Regions from separate parts of the Homo sapiens genome. Here regions 1 and 2 are each linked to region 3. Evidence: promoter capture Hi-C in human tissues and cell types (Jung and others, 2019). All regions are on one chromosome and are shown on one strand. The core of a region is centred on a gene start or on the middle of the fragment in contact, and the rest is flanking DNA. Distances in the headings are between cores, read along the strand shown.

Region 1 (2,700 bases), core at 11-2,510, 37 kb after region 3:
TTTTCTGTCGAAGTAGCACGTGTGTGCGTGCTTGGGTGTGTGTGTGTGTGCACTATGACTCAGAGTCAAAGTGAATGTATTTATACTAAATGGATATGTTCATTCATAGATATTTATTGATTGATAACTGTGCACTAAGCTAATCAGGGAGAAAGTTACCGTAGCAGAGAGAAGAAACAATTTTTTCCACTGATGAAATAATAAATAAACCAATTCAAATAATGCATAATTTATTGTCTGGAATTGTAGTTAAATGAAGAAGCATAGAGAAAGGTAAGAGGATAGAGAATGAAGTAGTATTGGATTCCAGTTTTTTAAATTTTTGATTTAATTTTTATTTTTATGGGTATATAGTAGGTGTATATATATGAGATACATGAGATATCTTGATAAAGGCATGCAATAAATAGTAATCACATCAGGGTAAATGGGGTATCCATGACCTGAAGCATTTATCTTTTGTGTTACAAACAATCCAGTTATAATATGTTAGTAGTTTTAAAATGTATGATTAAATTATTTTTGACTACAGTCATTCTGTTGTGTTAACAAACACTAAGTCCTAATAATTATTTCTATTTTTGTACCCATCAACCATCACTATTTCCTCCCCACTTCCCCCAACTACCCTTACCAGACCATGCTTCTACTCTCTAGCTCCAAGAGTTTGATTATTTTAATTTTTAGCTTCCACAAATAAATGAGAACATGTGAAGTTTGTCTTTTTGTGCTTGGCTCATTTTGCTTAAAATGATGAACTCCAGTTTCATCCATGTTGTTGCAAATGACAGGATTTCATTCTTCTTATGGTTGACTAGAACCCCATTGTGTATAGTTACCAAATTTTCTTTATCCATTCATCTGTTGTTGGACACTTGTGTTGCTTCCATTGTGTAACTATTGTGAGCAGAGCTGTAGCAAACATTGTAGTGCAGGCACCTTTTCAATACACTAATTTCCTTTCTTTTGTGTACGTACCTAGGAGTGGGATTGCAGGATTGTATGGTAACTCTATTTTTAATTTTTTGAGGAACTGTCAAACTGTTGTCCATAGTGATTCTACTAATTTACATTCTAACCCACAGTGTACAAGGGTTCTCTTTGCTTCACATCCTTGCCAGCATTTGTTATAGCCTGACTGACTTTTGGATAAAAACCATTTTATCTGGGGTGAGGTGATATCTCATTGTAGTTTTGATTTGTATTTCTCTGACAATCAGTGATATTGAGGACCTTTTCATATACCTGTTTGCCATTTTTATGTCTTCTTTTGAGAAATGCCTATTCAGATCTTTTGCCCATGTTTAAATCAGATTATTAGATTTGTCCCTAGAGAGTTATTTGTGCTCTTTATATATTCTGTCAGATGGGTAGTTTTCAAATATTTTCTCTCAGTCTATGGGTTTTGTCTTCACTTTGTTGATTGTTTCCTTTGCTGTGCCAGAGATTTTTAACTTGATGTGATCATTTGTCCATTTTTGCTTTGGTTGCCTGTGCTTTTGAGGTATTAGTCAATAAATCTTCAACCAGTCCAATGTCTGAGAGCATTCTCCAATGTTTTCTTTTAGTATTTTCATAGTTTGAGGTCTTACATTTAAGTCTTTAATCCATTTTGATTTGAGTTTTCTATATGGTGAGAGAAAGGGGTCTAGTTTTATTCTTCTGCATACGAATATCCAGTTTTCCCAGCACCACTTATTGAAAATGGTGTTCTTTCCCTAATGTATGATCTTGGCACCTTTGTCAAAATTGAGTTCACTGTAGATGTATAGATTTATCTCTGGGTTCTCTATTCTGTTCCACTGATCTATGTGTCTGTTTTTATACCAGAACCATGCCGTTTTGATTACTAAAGCTCTGTAGTATAACTTAAAGTCAAATAATGTGATTCCTCCAGTTTTGTTCTTTTTACTTAATAAATCTTTGCTATTCTGGGTCTTTTGTGGTTCCACATAGATTTTAGGACTTTTTTTCCTATTTCTGTGAAAAATGTCATTGGTATTTTGATAAGGATTGAATTGAATCTGTATATTACTTTAGATAGAGTGGACATTTTAACAATATTTATTCTCCTAATCCATGAACGTGAAACATCTTTCCAGTATTTTGTGTCTTCTCCAATTTATTGCATCAGCGTTTTATAGTTTTCATTGTAGAAATCATTCACTTCTGTGGTTAATTCCTTGGTATTTTATTTTATTTGTAGTTATTGTCTGGTCTGGTGTTGATGAAATTCGCCAGCTCTTGTTTTTCTGGAAAGTCTTCAATTCTTCTTCATATTTAACTAATATTTTCCCTGGATATGGTATTCCAGAATAAAAGTATTTTTCCTTCTGCACTGTAAACATGTCATACCATTCTCCTGGTCTGTAAGCTTTCTGTTGAAAAGTCAGTTCCTAGATGTATTTGAGCTTCATGGTATGTTATTTGTTTCTTGTCTCTTGCTGCTTTTAGGATACTTTATTTTGACCTTCGGAAGTTTATTAAATACCTTGAGGTAGTCTTATTTGGGCTAAATCTGATTGGTGTTCTATAACCTTGTACTTGAATAATGATATAGGTTTGGGAAATTCTATGTTATTACACCTTTGAATAAACTTTCTACTCCTATCTCTTTCTCTACCACCTCTTTAAAGCCAATAACTTTTAGAGTAGCCCATTTGAGGCTACTTTCTAGATCCTGTAGGCATGCTTCTTTGT
Region 2 (2,700 bases), core at 167-2,666, 35 kb before region 3:
AGAGGAGGGCAGGAGAAAGAGAGCTGCTTCTGAGGCTTTTATTTTGGAGTATCATTTTCTGAGCCCCAACAAAGAGATGGTAAAGAGCTGAAATTCATCAGGAACAACCAAAATGAAGAGGAAATTCAGTGAAAGTAAATGCATTCCCAAGGAGTCACCTTGGTGTGTGTCAGTCATTGGGATCACAGATGTGGTGTGAGAGAAGGCTGGAGAATGGCCTCTAGAACACGGATGCAGAGAGCCTCCTGTTGCTCTGACCCTGCTTGTCAGAGGCCTGTTACCTTGGGCAGTGCCTAATTTGCAGCCTGATAATTGGCTGCAGATGAGTCTGGGGAAGGTAGCTGCTGCTTTCTAGCCCCTGACTAGCAAGAGGGTGAAGTAAATGTAGACATCGCCCATGGGCAGTGTCCATCACATACCCTCTTTAGTCTTTATTTCAAAATTGATTTAGTTCTTTGAAGACTTTATCCTCCCATATAAATTTGTACACAAATTCTGAATTTGTGTATTATATAAAAAGTGCCAGCTTGAATTTGGATTCAGACAACATTGTGAATATAGAGATCTATTTGCAAATTCTTCTATGTTTATGCAGATGTACTATATGTATATATATTTTGAGATGGAGTCTTGCTCTGTCACCCAGGCTGGAGGGCAGTGGCATGATCTCGGCTCACTGCAACCTCCACCTTCCAGGTTCAAGCGATTCTTCTGCCTCAGCCTACCGAGTAGCTGGGACTACAGGCACGCACCACCATGCCCGTCTAAGTTTTGTATTTTTAGTGGAGACGGGGTTTCACCATATTGGCCAGGCTGGTCTTGAACTCCTGACCTTGTGATCTACCTGCCTCGGCCTCCTAAAGTGCTGGGATTACAGGCGTGAGCCACTGCGCCTGGTCTATGCAGATATACTATTAATACACCAATCAAAACAATTATTTATAATTATCTTTATTCAAATCTTCTTTAATGCATTCTGATAGAGCTTTAATTTTTTGTTTTTATTTTATTCTTTGTTAGATAGATTTCTAGATACCATATGCAACAGTAATAAATCTATGAATGACATTTTTTCCTAGCCTGTTATTGTTGGAATGCTATTGAATTTTGCAAGATGACTTTGTATCCACTAGCCTTGTTGAATTTCTCATTTTTTTTCATGGTTTTTTAATCCTACTGGGTTTACATAGTTAATATATCATCTATAAAGTTAAAGATTTTTCTATTCTTTTTTTGTTCCTTACAAGTCTTATAGGTACCTTTATCATGTTTTATAGCATAGTTATGTCAGAATTCTTAGGCATCATTTTCTTGTAACTGATCATAATAATTTTTTTCTAAATTGTTTTCATCAAGGTTGCTGTATATTTTTGACATTTATATTTGGCATTTATGTTTTTGGCATATTGCCTCTATCAAAATAAGGAGATTCTACTTTTTAAAAAAATATGTAGAGATGAGATTTCACTATGTTGCCCGGTCTGGAGTGCAGTGGCTATTCACAGATGCAATCAGAGTGCACTACAGCTTTGAACTCCTGGCCTCAAGTGATCTTCCTGCCTCAGCCTCCCAAGGAGCTGGGATTACAGGCCTGCACCACTGCACCCAGCTCTTCTGAGGGTTTTTATTGTTAATAAGGACCAAACATTATCAAATGCAGTTTTAAACTATTGAGATAACCTCATGATTCTTCTCTTAGGCTTCTAAAGTAGTTAATTATGTTAATAAATATTTTTGCTAATTACCTATCTTTTAATTTCTGGGATAAAACCCATTTGATTGTGATGTGTGCAATTTTACTATAGTTTTAGATTTAGTTAACTTATATTTTATTGAGGATTATTGCATCTATTTTCATGATCGAGTTGGACCTGTGATTTTTAAAAATTTGATTTATTTAATTTGAAATGAAAGTTTACCAATCTCATTAAATGGGTTGGCATCATTTTACATTTCTCTACTTTCTGGAACATCTTATATATGAGAGAGTATATTTGTCACTTGAAGTTTGGTAAATTGTGTACGCAGCTGTGTAAGCTGGATTTTTTTGTTATTGATGTTATTCATGTGTCAGTTTTTATATTTCATTTTTTCCAAGATATTATTCATTTTAAGCCATAATGTTTATTATACATAATTCTTCATCATGCCTGTTTTATGTCTGTAATACTTATTTTGAACTTTCTGTTTTCATTATATTTTTGTCTCCATTCCTTATTTCTTTAGTTGGTCTTTCCAGACTTTTGCTATCTTACTGATATTATTCTTTTCTAAGATTTGGTTCCCTATCATATTTATTTTTACCCACAACTTTCTTGTTTCCTTTTTCTTCTCCCAACTTCTTAAGATAAATGCTTACTTTGTCATTATTAGTCATTTATGTTTTCTTATGAATGTATTTTAGCAAGCTATTTTCTTCACACTTCACTTTATCCTTCAAATAGTCTTGTGTAGCTTGCATTATTATTTTATTCTGTGTTTTTAGAAAGTTCCTTTATGATTCCCTCTTTAACATAAGGATTATTTAGAATATTACTTGTGCCTAGACAGGTACACTTTTGGTTATAGCTTATTGGGTTTTAATTTTACTGCTTGATAGTTGGAGAAATCATGTGCAAATTGTTGATTTTGGGGGATGTTTACTAAGACTTTCTTTGTAGAGTTATGAAGTCATAAGTCAACATCCAACATTTAGAAAGT
Region 3 (2,700 bases), core at 138-2,637:
AGGGCTGGTCTCAAACTCCTGGCCTCAAGCTGTCCTCCCACCTTGGCCTCCCAAGTCGCTGGGATTTCTTTTATTATTTAAGTGCCATTGTTGTTCTTTCTTCTTTGCCCTTTTCTTCATAAACTATTTTCTTTTAGCCTTTTAGGGATCCAGTATTTGAGAAGTAATTTAGGCTGCACATTAGTTCTTTTTTTTTTTTTATCACTGTTAGTAACTGATGGAGTGACATATTTAATACCCATTTTTAAAATTTTGATTCCTTTCCAATGTACACAAATAGGTCTTGTGATTATTAAAACCTTTTTCTTTTTTTAATTATTATTATACTTTAAGTTTTAGGGTACATGTGCACAATGTGCAGGTTCGTTACATTTGTATACATGTGTCATGTTGGTGTGCTGCACCCATTAACTCGTCACTTAGCGTTAGGTATATCTCCTAATGCTATCCCTCCCCCGTCCCCCCACCCCACAACAGTCCCCGGTGTGTGATGTTCCCCTTCCTGTGTCCATGTGTTCTCATTGTTCAATTCCCACCTATGAGTGGGAATATGCGGTGTTTGGTTTTTTGTCCTTGAGATAGTTTGCTGAGAATGATGATTTCCAGCTTCATCCACGTCCCTACAAAGGACATGAACTCATCCTTTTTTATGGCTGCATAGTATTCCATGGTGTCTATGTGCCACATTTTCTTAATCCAGTCTAACATTGTTGGACATTTGGGTTGGTTCCAAGTCTTTGCTATTGTGAATAGTGCCCCAATAAACATACGTGTGCATGTGTCTTTATAGCAGCATGATTTATAATCCTTTGGGTATATACCCTGTAATGGGATGGCTGGGTCAGATGGTATTTCTAGTTCTAGATCCCTGAGGAATCGCCACACCAACTTCCACAATGGTTGAACTAGTTTACAGTCCCACCAACAGTGTAAAAGTGTTCCTATTTCTCCACATCCTTTCCAGCACCTGTTGTTTCCTGACTTTCAATGATCGCCATTCTAACTGGTGTGAGATGGTATCTCGAGACTCCCTTTTTCTGTAACTTGAAATACATTAATATAAAAGGGGAAATTTATTTTAAAGGAAGGGTCAAATTTATTTCCTGCAAAAGATGATGATGTTTCCTAATGTCTGCTCTTGCTCTTCTCTGCTTCGGAAAGCATTGAAGAACAGCTAAGATATTTGAAGGATGTGTATTGCATTTATTTATAATGCACATATTCGGAAAATAAATAGATCTAAGTCACTGGATGTAAAGACATAGCTTCTAAGCATTTAACATACAATACTTTTTTGGGTAGGCAGGTGACATTGTCACTCATTTAACCCTATGTGATGTGTTATCTTTCTCAGCTATGCCTCAGCCTTGGGGAACACACTTTACATATGGGGATGGTGAGACATACCAATGAGAGCAACCTAGCAGGTTTCATCCTTTTAGGGTTTTCTGATTATCCTCAGTTACAGAAGGTTCTATTTGTGCTCATATTGATTCTGTATTTACTAACTATTTTGGGGAATACCACCATCATTCTGGTTTCTCGTCTGGAACCCAAGCTTCATATGCCGATGTATTTCTTCCTTTCTCATCTCTCCTTCCTGTACCGCTGCTTCACCAGCAGTGTTATTCCCCAGCTCCTGGTAAACCTGTGGGAACCCATGAAAACTATCGCCTATGGTGGCTGTTTGGTTCACCTTTACAACTCCCATGCCCTGGGATCCACTGAGTGCGTCCTCCCGGCTGTGATGTCCTGTGACCGCTATGTGGCTGTCTGCCGTCCTCTCCATTACACTGTCTTAATGCATATCCATCTCTGCATGGCCTTGGCATCTATGGCATGGCTCAGTGGAATAGCCACCACCCTGGTACAGTCCACCCTCACCCTGCAGCTGCCCTTCTGTGGGCATCGCCAAGTGGATCATTTCATCTGCGAGGTCCCTGTGCTCATCAAGCTGGCTTGTGTGGGCACCACGTTTAACGAGGCTGAGCTTTTTGTGGCTAGTATCCTTTTCCTTATAGTGCCTGTCTCATTCATCCTGGTCTCCTCTGGCTACATTGCCCACGCAGTGTTGAGGATTAAGTCAGCTACCAGGAGACAGAAAGCATTCGGGACCTGCTTCTCCCACCTGACAGTGGTCACCATCTTTTATGGAACCATCATCTTCATGTATCTGCAGCCAGCCAAGAGTAGATCCAGGGACCAGGGCAAGTTTGTTTCTCTCTTCTACACTGTGGTAACCCGCATGCTTAACCCTCTTATTTATACCTTGAGGATCAAGGAGGTGAAAGGGGCATTAAAGAAAGTTCTAGCAAAGGCTCTGGGAGTAAATATTTTATGATTATTAAAAAAAAATTTAAGTGACACTGTGATGAATTTTTTTTTTGGTAAAAAGTAGCATCTTTTAATAAGAGGATTTTTTATGGGCTCTTCTCACATTTTCTTTTGATTAAATATTTGTACGACATTTTGCATTATGTAAAATACTATGGAATATATGTCTACATACATACATGAAACATATGTCTATAAAGTCGCAACTTGGCCATTACCCAGTAGCAGTATAAGGTGAGTCCTTTAGTCAATCTATGCTTCAGTGCCTTTGCTGCAGAATATATCATTTGTGTAGTACATTTGAAACTACTTTTAAATAAATACTTTACTGGATTAAGATAGGCATGAACATATTCAAGAAATGTT

What was found. Contacts are between HindIII fragments. The study calls those that stand out against the background at their distance.
Region 1: a contact is called between a fragment that was not itself captured here and the fragment with the promoter of OR2G2 in region 3, in 4 of the 25 tissues and cell types used here (liver, small bowel, stomach and 1 more).
Region 2: a fragment that was not itself captured here is called in contact with the fragment with the promoter of OR2G2 in region 3 in 2 of the 25 tissues and cell types used here (mesendoderm cells and thymus).

What each region holds. Positions count from the first base shown.
Region 1 is chr1:247,624,215-247,626,914 of GRCh38, forward strand. All of the region lies in intron 2 of LOC102724446 (a long non-coding RNA gene), which reads right to left. Among named protein-coding and RNA genes, the nearest start is that of OR14L1, 8.4 kb to the left of the region's middle. The HindIII fragment of the contact is 5,542 bases long and covers 1-2,700 here.
Region 2 is chr1:247,552,155-247,554,854 of GRCh38, forward strand. The region is part of intron 1 of GCSAML (germinal center associated signaling and motility like); the gene reads left to right. Among named protein-coding and RNA genes, the nearest start is that of GCSAML, 4.4 kb to the left of the region's middle. The HindIII fragment of the contact is 9,997 bases long and covers 1-2,700 here.
Region 3 is chr1:247,586,973-247,589,672 of GRCh38, forward strand. It overlaps OR2G2 (olfactory receptor family 2 subfamily G member 2), which reads left to right and starts at 1,388. Exons shown (of 1, transcript NM_001001915.1): 1 at 1,388-2,341. The coding sequence starts at 1,388. The coding sequence ends at 2,341. All of the region lies in intron 2 of LOC102724446 (a long non-coding RNA gene), which reads right to left. The HindIII fragment of the contact is 12,436 bases long and covers 1-2,700 here.